2 separate regions of the Homo sapiens genome follow, and region 2 is linked to region 1. The links are contacts of gene promoters, found by promoter capture Hi-C in human tissues and cell types (Jung and others, 2019). All regions are on one chromosome and are shown on one strand. The core of a region is centred on a gene start or on the middle of the fragment in contact, and the rest is flanking DNA. Distances in the headings are between cores, read along the strand shown.

What was found. Contacts are between HindIII fragments. The study calls those that stand out against the background at their distance.
Region 2: a fragment that was not itself captured here is called in contact with the fragment with the promoter of UBE2R2 in region 1 in 4 of the 25 tissues and cell types used here (IMR-90 fibroblasts, dorsolateral prefrontal cortex, hippocampus and 1 more).

What each region holds. Positions count from the first base shown.
Region 1 is chr9:33,812,727-33,819,038 of GRCh38, forward strand. UBE2R2 (ubiquitin conjugating enzyme E2 R2) reads left to right here and starts at 4,434. Exons shown (of 5, transcript NM_017811.4): 1 at 4,434-5,208. The coding sequence starts at 5,032. It overlaps UBE2R2-AS1 (UBE2R2 antisense RNA 1), which reads right to left and starts at 6,142. Exons shown (of 5, transcript NR_170204.1): 1 at 5,901-6,142. RefSeq lists an enhancer at 3,944-4,033 and silencers at 4,324-4,423, 4,604-4,813, 4,884-5,053. The HindIII fragment of the contact is 14,786 bases long and covers 1-6,312 here.
Region 2 is chr9:34,068,287-34,074,365 of GRCh38, forward strand. No RefSeq gene overlaps it. Among named protein-coding and RNA genes, the nearest start is that of UBAP2, 22 kb to the left of the region's middle. The HindIII fragment of the contact is 4,573 bases long and covers 1-4,074 here.

The DNA of each region.
Region 1 (6,312 bases), core at 3,184-5,683:
GCTCTTAGATCTGATAAATAAGTTCAGTACAGTTGTAGGATATGGCCAGGCATGGTGGCTCACGCCTGTAATCCCAGCATTTAGGGAGGCCAAGACGGGAGGATCACCTAAGGTCAGGAGTTCAAGACCAGCCTGACCAATACAGTGAAACCCCATCTCAACTAAAAACACAAAAATTAGCCGGGCATGGTGGCATGTGCTTGTAGTCCCAGCTACTCAGGGGGCTGAGACAGGACAAGCGCTTGAACCCAGCAGGCAGAGGTTGCAGTGATCCAAGATTGCTCCACTGCACTCCAGCCTGGGCTGCAGAGCAAGACTCTGTCTCAAAAAAAAAAAAAAAAAGTTGTGGGATAAAAAAATCAACATACAAAAATTAGTAGCATTTCTATACACCAGTAATAACTAGCCGAGAAAGAATTCAAGAAGGAAATCCCATTTATAATAGCTACAAGAAAATAAAATACTTAGGAAAAAAATTTAACCATGTTGAAAAAAGTTTCACCATGTTGGCGAGGCTGATCTCGAACTCCTGACCTCAAATGATCTGCCTGCCTCAGCCTCCCAAAGTGCTGGGATTACAGGCATGAGCCGCTGCGCCTGGCCAACTTTTTGAAATTTAATATGTTAACATATATGTAAAACTTGGACACTACTCTTAAGGAGCCACAGTCTTCCTCTAAAATTAGTAGTGGGCCTGCCATGGTGGCTCACACCTGTAATCTCAGCACTTTGAGAGTTTGAGGTGGGCGGATTGCTTGAGCTCAGGAGTTCAAGACCAGCCTGGGCAACATAATGAAACCTTGTCTCTACTAAAAATACAAAAATTAGTCCGGTGTGGTGGCACTGCGCCTGTAGTCCCAGCTACTCCGGGGACTGAGGTGGGAGGATTGCTGGAACCCAGGAGGCGGAGGTTGCAGCGAGCCAAAATCATGCTACTGCACTCCAGCCTGGGTGACAGAGCAAGACTCTGTCTCAGTTAAAAAAAAAAAAAAAAAAAAAAGAAGAGGAAGAAGAAGAAGTACCCTGGTTGGAAAGTACCAGGTGATGCCTGACACTGAGCGTTAAGCGCTCTGTTTTCTTTTTAAAAAAAAATATTATTTTTTAAATTTAAATTTTGAGTGCTGTTTTTCTTTACCACCAGAGGGCACCAATCAGGCAAGTCAATCTACATGCCATTATGAAACAATATGAGAAAGCTCTAGGAAGCTGTTTCTAGCATTCATTCTTTTTAACAAATATGTTTTGAGCACTTAATATGTGCCAAACATTGGAGTAGCTGGTGTAGAGTTTTGGAATTTATAGTCTTGAGCACCTACTATGTGCTTGAGAGAACAGATAGGCATGGGGATAGAGGGTAGGGTTCAATTTGTGATTTTGTGATTACTCATTGTCTTCCTGTCCTTGGCCATGAGTCTCTTGAGAACAATTACTTAGTGTCTACTTTGTGTCAGATGGTGTGCCTGTTGCTGAGGATTCAGGCATGAATAAGACACAGTGGCAGTCTACTAATAAACAATGTCTTACTGGCTAGAATAAAAACACATGAGCTAGTTCTGTGGAATTCCAGTTCCTGTGACCTGAGAATAAACAGCCTTGATTATAAAACTCATTAACGCATTGAGCTTCCAACCTCCCAGCATAGAGGCATGCCCGCAGTGGATGCTTAGTGAGTTTGTGAGTTGACATGAGCCCAGGGGGCCGCTTCTGGTCTGAGTGCCAGGTATACGTTCCAGTGGGTTAGACTAGGGCTTCATCACCCTCCAGGTCAGGGTGGGGCTGTGATGAGTTTTTGTGGGTGAAATGCTTTGAAGATGACCTTTCTACCTATTTATCTGCTCACCGCCTTGCTATTAAAGGTGTCAACATCATCTTTCACATTTCCGGGTCAGCAATCCTCTTGTCCCTAAATTGACTGGTACTGGAGGGAAAGACAGAATGGGACATAAACCATCATTTTGATAAGAGGGGCTGCATTCACTAGGATACTCCCTCTTCTCTGAGGGGAGCTCTAATTCCAGTAGAGTTCGGTCTCAAGACCTGGACAGTAGCGTTGGCGGCTAGAAAAGGATGTTTTAAAACACTGAGACCTCGTCTTTTACAGGAAAAAAAAGGCCAAAAAAAAAGGAGGGGGGGCTGCTTAAGTGTGGATTGTGTAGAGTGACTCCATTCCAAAGAGTACAGTATAGAAAAGGGGAGGAAGGGGCAGAGTAACTTTACAGTAGAAAGACTTGACACACTTCCTCAGCCAGACAATCAAGGTCAACATCAACATTGCTAAGTCATGTTGCTATTTGTGCCCTTAATATGATGTGATGAAATGGCATTTCACCTCTGTGATCTTACCCTCAAAAACTCATAATCCCAGTCTAATCATGAGAAAAGCATCACAATCCCAATTGAGGGACAGTCTACAAAATACTTGACCAGTATTCTTCAAAACTGTTAAGGTCATCAGAACAAAGTCTAAGAAACTGCCACAGTCAAGAGGAATCTACAGAAACAGGAAAACTGAATGTAGTCTGGTATCCTGGATGAGATCCTGGAACAGCAAAAGGTCAGTAGGTAAAAATTAGGGAAGTATGAGCTTCAGTCAACAGTGATGTATCAATATTAGCTCATTAATTGTAATACATGTACTCTACTAATGTAATATGTTAATAAAAGGGGGAACTGGGCGCCAGGTGTAGGGGAACTTGACTATCTTTTCAATTTTTCTATAAATCTAAAACTGTCCTTGGCTGGGCACAGTGGCTCACGCCAGTAATCCCAGCACTTTGGGAGGCTGAGGTGGACGGATCACCTGAGGTCAAGGGTTGGAGACCAGCCTCGCCAACATGGTGAAATCCCGTCTCTACTAAAAATACAAAAATTAGCTGGGCATGGCTGTGCACACCTGTGGTCCTGCTACTTGGGAGACTGAGGTTAGAGGATGGCTTAAGCCCAGGAGGTTACTGCTAGAGTGAGCTATAATCACTCTACTGTACTCCAGCCTGGGCAACAGAGTAAGACCCTGTCTCAATAAAAGGGGTGGGTAGTGGTGGTATCCAGAATACAGCTATGCCTTAAAGTTTTTTTCTTTCAAGTTTCTATGAATCATTAACCATGTGCCAGTCACTACGCTAAATGCTGTACATACATTTAATCATTACAATTGCTTGTGTTGGGTATAATTAATCCCCTTTTACAGAAGCTGATTAAACAGCCGGGTGTGGAGGCATGCACCTGTAGTCCTAGCTACTTGGGAGGCTGAGGTGGGAGAATCGCTTGAACCTGGGAGGCGGAGGTTGCAGTGGGCCATGATCGCGCCACTGTGCTACAGCCTGGGTGACAGAGCAAGACCCTGTCTCAAACAAAACAAAACCAAAAAACAAAAAACTGATGATACAGGGAGAAGTAATGGAACTAGGGTTGGAACCAAGATCTGTCTAGTTCCGAAACTGTGTGTGTAGAACTCTCACAATATTCTGGCTTTTCTAGGAAATGTTTTTTAGGCAGTTATCCTAGGACATGCCTTCCTAGGAGAAAGGAGTACTGTATTCTGAACCACGGGGGGACCAAAGACTGTCCCCACATCTCACTTCGGTTATGATTATCTCGAAAGTCCCTCAGTTCCAGGGTGGACATTCAAGCCACAAGCACCTATAGGGAACTTTGACCCCTAAGTTCAACCACAGTAGTTTATTTTACAAATGGCGAAGGCGAAGGGCAGCCTGAGCACTTGCCCCAAATCACAATGAGAAGGGCTAGAGACCCAGTTTGTTATTGTCTTTTTCCTCACAACTTCCTCTTTGTAGTTAAGAAGGGAAGCAGAAGCTGACCTTTTTGTCTCACCCCGTTTCTCACGTGGAACTGCCGCACCCAGGGTGAGTAACGTGCCAAAGGGCACACTTGCCTGTGGGCTGGCCTGCGGGAAGGTCTGTTCCCACCGAAAAGACCCACATTGTCAGCACATCCTAATCAAGTAGCTACTAAGTGGAGGGACCGCAGACTGGGTGTCACGGGGAGGGGCCTGCAGCGACCAGGCCCGTCCCAGGATGGCTGCGGAGGCCCCTGGATCCACAGTGGGGAGGGCCCCGAGAGCCGGGAGACCTGGGTTCCCTTCCCGGGCACGCCTTTGGAACTGCGGCGTCCAGCCGCACAACCGTCACTCTGGGGCCACGGCAATCCCTGCGCCCGCCCTTGGTCCCCGCTGCTTCTGGGATCTTTATGGGCGGGGGACACGCGCCAGCGTCACAAAGCGCCGCGACCGCGCGGGAGACCGAGAGGAGGCGTGGAAACGGGAGGAGGAGGAGGTGGTAGTGGAGGAGAGCCAGGCACGGTGGGGGGAGGGGAGGGAGGGGCACGCGCACGCGCGTCGGGCCGCCAGCCGCTGAGAGCCGCCCAGCACCCGGCGTGCGCCCCTCCTCCCTCTCTCCCTCCCTCCCTCCCTCCCTGCTTCTCGGCTCCGTTGCTCCCGCGGCGCGAGGCGCTCTCGCTCTCCTCCTCCTCCGCCGTCGCCCCTCCCCCCGCGCAGCCCCCGCCGCCACCGCCGCGAGACCCCCGCACGCCGCTCTCCCCCCACCCTCTCCTGCCCCGCGCGCCCTCCGGCCCCTGCGGCCCCCGAAGAGAACGAGAGGGCGAGCGAGCGCGGCGTTCCCGGGCCGGCCCGGCCCCCTCCCTTCACCATCGCCGGCCCTCCGCCGCCTTCCTCCGCTTCCACCTCCTCTCCCCCCCCCCAAGTTGAGGCCCCCTCCGGGGGGGGGAGGCCCGGGACCGGGACCCGTAGCGAATTCTCCTAACTCCCTCGACCTCTCCTCTCGCCCGGCCCGAGTGTGAGGAGAAGGGCCCGGCCCGGCCTGCGTCGTGTGTGAGGAGGACCCCGGGCGGGCCCACGGGCCGTGTGGGGCCTGGTCTGGCCCGCCGGGTGTGTGAAGACCGGGGCCCGGTGCTGCCCGGCCGGAGGGCGAGCGGAGGGGAGGGGCCTGGTCCGGCCCGGCCGGTGCGTGAGGACTGGGGCCCGGGCCCGGCGCCGCCGCCGCCGCCGCCGCCGCGATGGCCCAGCAGCAGATGACCAGCTCGCAGAAGGCCCTGATGCTCGAGCTGAAATCCCTGCAGGAGGAACCGGTGGAGGGCTTCCGGATCACCCTGGTGGACGAGTCCGACCTCTACAACTGGGAGGTGGCCATCTTCGGACCCCCCAACACCCTCTACGAAGGCGGCTACTTCAAGGTACCCTCACCCTCCTCCCGGACCCTGCTTCCGCGGCCGAGGCCTCCGGCTCCCCGCCGCTTTCTGCAGTTCCTGGGACCAGGAGTATGAGCACGGGCGAGTGGAGGGGGCTTCTCACCCGTGCAGCCCCCTCCCCCATCCCTGGAGGCAGGAAGGCCTTGCTCGCCGAGTGCCTTTTCTTTGTCATGGGGGCGGGGGCTCGGGCGGGGGCGGGAGGGCAGGCTGCACCGGGAAATCGGAGAGCCTCTCTGGTTAGGGTAGTGTCTACGGGCGGAGGAGGCCGCCTTTGTTTCCCCCGCTGAGGGTGGGTGGAAAGAGCGGTGGTCTATCTGTGCTTTTTCGTTCTCCGGTCGGAACCCCTCCCTGCGCAGGCTGGAACTGCCCCAGAGGGCAGGGTGACCTGCACCGACTGGATTGGACTTTTCTTTTTTGGGGGGTGGGGGTGGGGGTGGGGTGGGGGAGGGGCACCAGCTTGTCATTTCAGAAGCTGCCGAGTGCCCTGACATTTTGAGGATTTGTTGGGCATCTTGGGTAGTGGTAGTGCCAACTTTGCATTCCAATGGGTGGTGGTGAAGAATGGGACCCTAGGGGTGGTAAAAAAAAAAAAAAAAAAAAAAAGGGTGCCCGCGTCGTCTTGTCATTATCCATTTGGGGGAACTTTAACCCTCTTTCCGTTCACATTCTCTGCTTACCTCAGTCACTGGTTCTTTCAAAATGCCCTTTGTCCTCACCATGCCACCAAGTTTGCCAACCTTTTTTTCTACAGGTAGAAGTATCCACAAAGGGTGGAACGAGTCATGTAGGGAGACTGATAGCTTCCTACTTTCAGAGACAAAATTGAAACCTGCTCAAGTGGTTAACTCTAGCTAAAGGGGTGGTCTCACAGATGACAAGTATCATCTGAGGCGAGATCGTTTCTCTGGGTGGGATGTATGGTTCCTTAGCGACCACAGACATTGTTTCTGTTGTTTTATATGGTCTTAGAACAGTGGTTATCATTCCAGAATCTAATGATTTTTTTTTAACTCCAAGGTAGTTAACTTGGAGATAATGAGTGTTTGTTTTGTTTTGTTTTTACTTGAGTGTTTTTGCAGGGAGGAATCA
Region 2 (6,079 bases), core at 538-3,037, 250 kb after region 1:
TGAGGCAGGTGGATCACCTGAGGTCAGGAGTTCGAGACTAGCCTGGCCAACATGGGGAAACCTCATCTCTACTAAAAAAATACAAAAAATTAGCTGGGCACAGTGGCAGGTGCCTATAATCCCAGCTACTCGGGAGGCTAAGGCAGGAGAATCGCTTGAACCCAGGAAGGAGAGGTTGCGGTGAGCCGAGATTGCGCCGTTGCACTCCAGCCTAGGAGAGAGCAAGACTCCATCTAAAAAAAATAATAATAAGTAAATAAAAAAAAAGAAGTCAGTTCCTAAACAGCCTAGAGATGCATTCAGCCAAGGTCCCCAGGCTTAGGTGGAATGTACCTCCAACAGGTGCTGGGGCCTTAAAAGCTCACGCTGGGTGCAGTGGCTCACTTCTGTAATCCCAACACTTTGGGAGGCCAAGGCAGGCGGATCCTTTGAGGCTAGGAGTTTGAGACCAGCCTGTGCAACATGGCAAAACCCCATCTCCACTAAAAATACAAAAGTTAGCAACATGGTGAGACCGTGTCTCTACAAGAAATTTAAAAATTAACCAGGTGTGGTGGCACATGCCTGTAGTCCCAGTGGACGACTGCCTGAACCTAGGAGTTTGAGAGTAGCCTGGGCAACATGGGGAAACCCTATCTATAAAAAATTTTATATATATATATATATATAAATTAGCTGGGCATGGTGGTGCACACCTGTAGTTCCAACTATTCAGGAGACTGACCTGGGAGGACCACCTGAACCTGGGGAGGTCAAGGCTGCAGTGAGCCATGATTGTGCCAGTGCACTCCAGCTGGGTGACAGAGCAAGACCCTGTCTCAAAACAAACAAAACAAAACAGCAACAAAAAACACCACACAATAAAAAACTCAACAATCAACAAAACAAGCCCTAATATGTAGCATGTGCTGATTTCTGTGGCATAAATATCCCTACCACAGCCTATTTAAAGTTACAGGATATGGCCGGGCGTGGTGGCTCACACCTACAACCCCAGCACTTTGGGAGGCCAAGGCTGTTGGATCACTTGAGGTCAAGAGTTCAAGACCTGCCTGGCCAACTTGTCAAAACCCTGCCTCTACTAAAAATACAAAAATTAGTCGGTCATGGTGATGTGGACCTGTAATCCCAGCTACTTGGAAGGCTGAGGCAGGAGAATTGCTTGAACCCAGGAGGCAGAGGTTGTAGTGAGCAAACATTGCACCACTGCACTCCAGCCTGGGCGACAGAGAGAAACCTGTCTCAAAAAACAAAACAAAAAATAAATAAAATAAAATAAAGTTACAGGATATATCAAGCTACATCAACCTACAATATAATGCTGGAAGTGGAGAGTGAAGTAGTGGAGAACTCTGACTCCAGTGCAGGCAAGTTACTTTATCTCTCTGGGCCTCAGTTTCTTCATCTGTAAAATGAGATGATACTAATGCTTCCTCCATAGAGTCATTAAGGGGATTAAATGTGAATATATGAAAATGACGTATGGCAGAGGCTAACATTCCGTACCTTTTAGCTATTGTTAGCCTCTACTATTAATTTACTGTGTGACCTTGGGCAAGACTCTTTCTATCTCTGCATCTTAGTTCCTTCACTTTGTAAAACAAAGAGGTTTTATTGTAAATAATCTTTGACATCCTTCCAGCTCTAAAAATCCTAGTGCCATCTCTGACTCCAGTAAAAGAGAACCTCAGCCTCCGTCTCTGGTTTATGAGCACTTTTCCTGAAATCACAGGTATAAGTCACCTGGGTGATGCAAGAAACATCCAGGTGGATTCTGTCCAAAGTTGATTCATTCCAAAATGTAAAGTTAAAAGGCCGGGTGTGGTGGCTCACTCCTGTAATCCCAGCACTTTTGGAGGCCAAGGCAGACGGATCACTTGAGGTCGAGAGTTTGAGACGAGCCTGGCCAACGTGGTGAAACCCCATCTCTACTAAGCAAACAAACAAACAAAAAATACAAAAATTAGCCGGGCATGGTGGCGCACACCTGTAATCCCAGATACTCAGGAGGCTGAGGTAGGAGAATTGCTTGAACCCAGGAGGCAGAGGTTGCAGTAAGCTGAGATCGCACCACTGCAAGACTCTGTCTCAAAAAAAAAAAAAAAAGTAAAGTTAAAAGTAATTATCAGGCCGGGCAGTGGCTCATGCCTGTAATCCCAGCACTTTGGGAGGCCGAAGTGGGCAGATCACCTGAGGTCAGGAGTTTGAGACCAACCTGGCCAACATGGTAAAACACCATCCCTACTAAAAATACAAAAATTAGCTGGGTGTGGTGGTGCACACCTGTAATCCCAGCTACTCAGGAGGCTGAGACAGGAGAATCGCTTGAACCCAGGAGGGAGAGGTCGCAGTGAGCTGAGATCATACCACTGCACTCCAGCTTGGGTGACAGAGCAAGACTCCATCTCAAAAAAATTAAAAAAAAAAAGAAGTAATTGTCAGCCTTTGCCTCACTCAGTCTGGGAAAACTTCTCTGGGGCCAAAGCTTCCCGGCATCTGGGACTCTTTTCCTCTAACTGGCAGGCCCAGGTGCTGGTCAGTTCTGGCTGAGTCATTTGTAAACCTGCTAGGTGCCTGGTTTAGAAACTTTCTGATTCTTCCCTCTTGGGAGGGTCCTAGGGGAAAATGTCTTTTTCTTTTTTTCTTTGTTTCATGGAGAGAAACAAAAACAGAAAGAAACAGAAATACAGAGAGAAACCTAGAGGCACTATTAATAGAAAGAGACTGAGAAAAAAACACCAGGAGAAAGATTTTTCTGACATTTTTTTTTCTAACAAGAGAAGACAAATACAAACAGAGCTGAAGATAAAATAAAAGCTGATTCCCACCACAACTCTGCAGAATTTCTTGGAAAGGATCATGTTTCAAATAAATACACATGCAGTACAGATGGCGGTATTTCTTGCTTTTTTCCCTACTCTTAACTCTGGGATATTTTGAGCATGCACCTTCCTCCAGCCCAAATGCCCAGTGGAATAATCTTACCTACGTTTCCATTCAGGCCCAATCCTCCTGGTTGAATTCCATAGGAGTTAGAATTATTATCACCTTTTATCACCTTAGAACCAAAGATTCTAAGAGCGAAAAATGACTTTAGAGCACACCTCCTCTTCCTGCAATATTTTACATATGAGAAAACCGAAGCTCAGAGAGGTTAGGTAACTTACTGAGATCCTACAGACAAATGACAGAGCCAGGTTAGATGGCAATCTGTAGTAAGATACATGTCCTTATTTATCAGGTCCCCAGCAAGAAATAGATGGATAATTGAGGAGAGTTTAATAACGACAACGAGAGATGTTACAGTGCCCGAGGGCCAGTGACAGTGTGGAAACCTGATCACTATTGGGCTTCAGGGGACAACAGGAAGGGAGCAGCAAACAAATGAGAAGGGTCACCTGACAGGGGTCTGCAGTGACTCCACTTTTAGGAAGGTGGGGTGTCAGTGGAAAATAAATAACCTCTTTTTTTTTTTGAGACGGAGTCTCACTCTGTCGCCCAGGCTGGAGTGCAGTGGCACGATCTTGGCTCACTGCAGCCTCCGCCTCCCGGGTTCAAGCAATTCTGCCTCGGTCTCCCAAGTACCTGGGACTAAAGGCACGCGCTGCCATGCCCAGCTAATTTTTATATTTTTAGTAGAGATGGGGTTTCGCCATGTTGGCCAGGTTGGTCTCGAACACCTGACCTCAGGTGATCTCCCCACCTCAGCCTCCCAAAGTGCTGGGATTACAGGCATGAGCCACGGTGCCCGGCCATAAATAACCTCTTGTCCCAATCCTCTTTCCTCCTAATCTCCATTGGGAGAATTTAACCAGAAGGCAGAGGACAAGAAGGCCTACTGATAGACCAGGAGTACCCAGTAGGGCAGAGAGTAGATCTGGAGGGGTACATGGAAGCACACCTATCATCACTTTATTTATTATTATTATTATTATTATTATTATTTGAGATGGAGTCTAACTTTGTCGCCCAGGCTGGAGTAAAGTGGTGAGATCGCACCACTGCACTCCAGCCTGGGTGGCAGAGCGAGACTCTGCCTCAAAAAATTAAAAAAAAAAAAAACAAGGAAGAGAGAAGCTGGAGTCTTGGGACCTATGAGCAGATAGTTTAGTGGAAGCCTGGGAGGCCCTCTCCTCCTTCTGTGGAGCAAAAAGTCACCTCTCCAGGGACCTCTTTGACTTGACAGATCCCTTTGGCTGTATCCTGTCTCCTGCTCTCCCTACCTCTAGAATCACCTCCCTACCCTAAAGCCAAAGGAGTCTGAGGCAGAGTCAAGACTCTCAGAAGCAAGTTAAACCAGTTCCTGCAGGCCCTGACATGCCCTGCTGAATAGCCCCTGCAGAAAATTCCTGTCCTCAGCTGTAGCCACAGCTGGCTACTGATGGTAAGAAAGAGACCTGAGGAGGGGAGAGATCTCAAGGAAAACACAAGTCGACACCTTCCTTCAAATACAGATAGAGCCAAACTGGACTTTTAGGAGCTGAGACCGTGCCTGTGGGGCAAAGCTAACACTCAAGTCACCTCTTTCTTGGTCAGCATAGTGGCTACTTCTGCCTGAAAGGACATCTCCAAAGAGCACCAATGCCTGTTTCTTGGGGCCTCCATCCAACTGTGTCAGCTCAGATCCTAGCAGAGCTCCCGGTGTTCTCTGAGAAGCTGCCTCCCAGCAATATCTGAGAGCCCAGGTTTCAGTTTCTTCCTCCAGGTTGCTCAGGTCCCCTGAGTCCCGGGGAAAGGCCACACATGGCTTATTCCTCATGCAGGCAATATGGCTGGGTGTCTTGCCTCACTGTGGTTATATAGGGTAGGCTACAACCAGGGGGAGTACAGAGGTTAATGGTTCAGGATTGGGTAAAGGCCTGGCTGGAGGCTTGAGGGCTTGGAGCTTGGTGTAAAAGTTACCTCCCCCTGTTTCTGGTGCTTCAGAGTCAAAATTATTTGGCCTGACTTTAAGTGAGGGAGTTCTGCCATCTCTCCTGGACTGTAAGAGCTCAGCCGATGACTCAGGGAGCCCTAAGAATGCTTTACAGCTGTGCTCTGTAAACACCGTCACGTTTTATGTTGCAGAAGTTCACAGTCAGCCAAGAGATTTAGTTACCTGCCTGCAGTCAAAAGCTGGTTAATGATTAGAAACAGGATTTAACTGGGAGCTTCAACCTCAGATCCAGTGCTCTTTCTCTAAGCTGCCTCCTACCTAACTCCTCCAATGCTCTATTTATTTATTTCAGATAGGATCTGGCTCTGTCATCCAGGCTGAAGTGCAGTGGTGCAATCATAGCTAACTACAGCCCCAAACTTCTTGTGCTCAAGCGATCCTCCCATCTCAGCCTCCTAAGTAGCTGGGACTACAGGTACGTGCCACTTGTAGTGATTTTTAAATTCTTTTTTTAATAGAGATGAGGTCTTGGTATGTTGACTAGGCTGGTCTTGAGCTCCTGGCCTCAAGCAATCCTCCTACCTCAATCTCCCAAAGCGCTGAGGTTAGGTATGAGCCACCGCACCCCACCTCAATTTATTGAATTTGGTGATCCAGTGATCCAGTGGCAACATTCCATTCCTTCCACAATAAGATCTATTTGGCTTTAAACAAAACACACACACTTCTGAGAAGCTGTATGCTCACATCTTTGTAAATCAAATCTGCAGATAAATGCAGAGGGAAGCTTGATTCAAGGATTGCTACTCTGAAAACCTCAATAAAGTGAAATAAAACCCCAAAAACTCCTTCGAGTTTGAGACCAGCCTGAGCAATAAAGAAAATCCTGTCTCTAAAAAAAAAAAAAAAAAAATTAGCCATGCAGGGTAGTGCATGCCTGTAGTCCCAGCTACTCAGGAGGCTGAGGTGGGAGGATTGCTTGAGTGACCAGGAGGTTGAGGCTGCAGTGAGCCAAGATGGGGCCACTCCACTCCAGCCTGGGCAACACAGCAAGACCCTGTCTCAAAACAAAAACAAAAAACTCTTTCACACTACAGCTACCTTCCTCTCTCCGCAGTCCCTTTAAAAGACATTTTTGTGCATATCTTTGTTTTCTCCACACTCCATGTGGAATTTATGCAGGAGAGGGATCTCCAGAAGCGA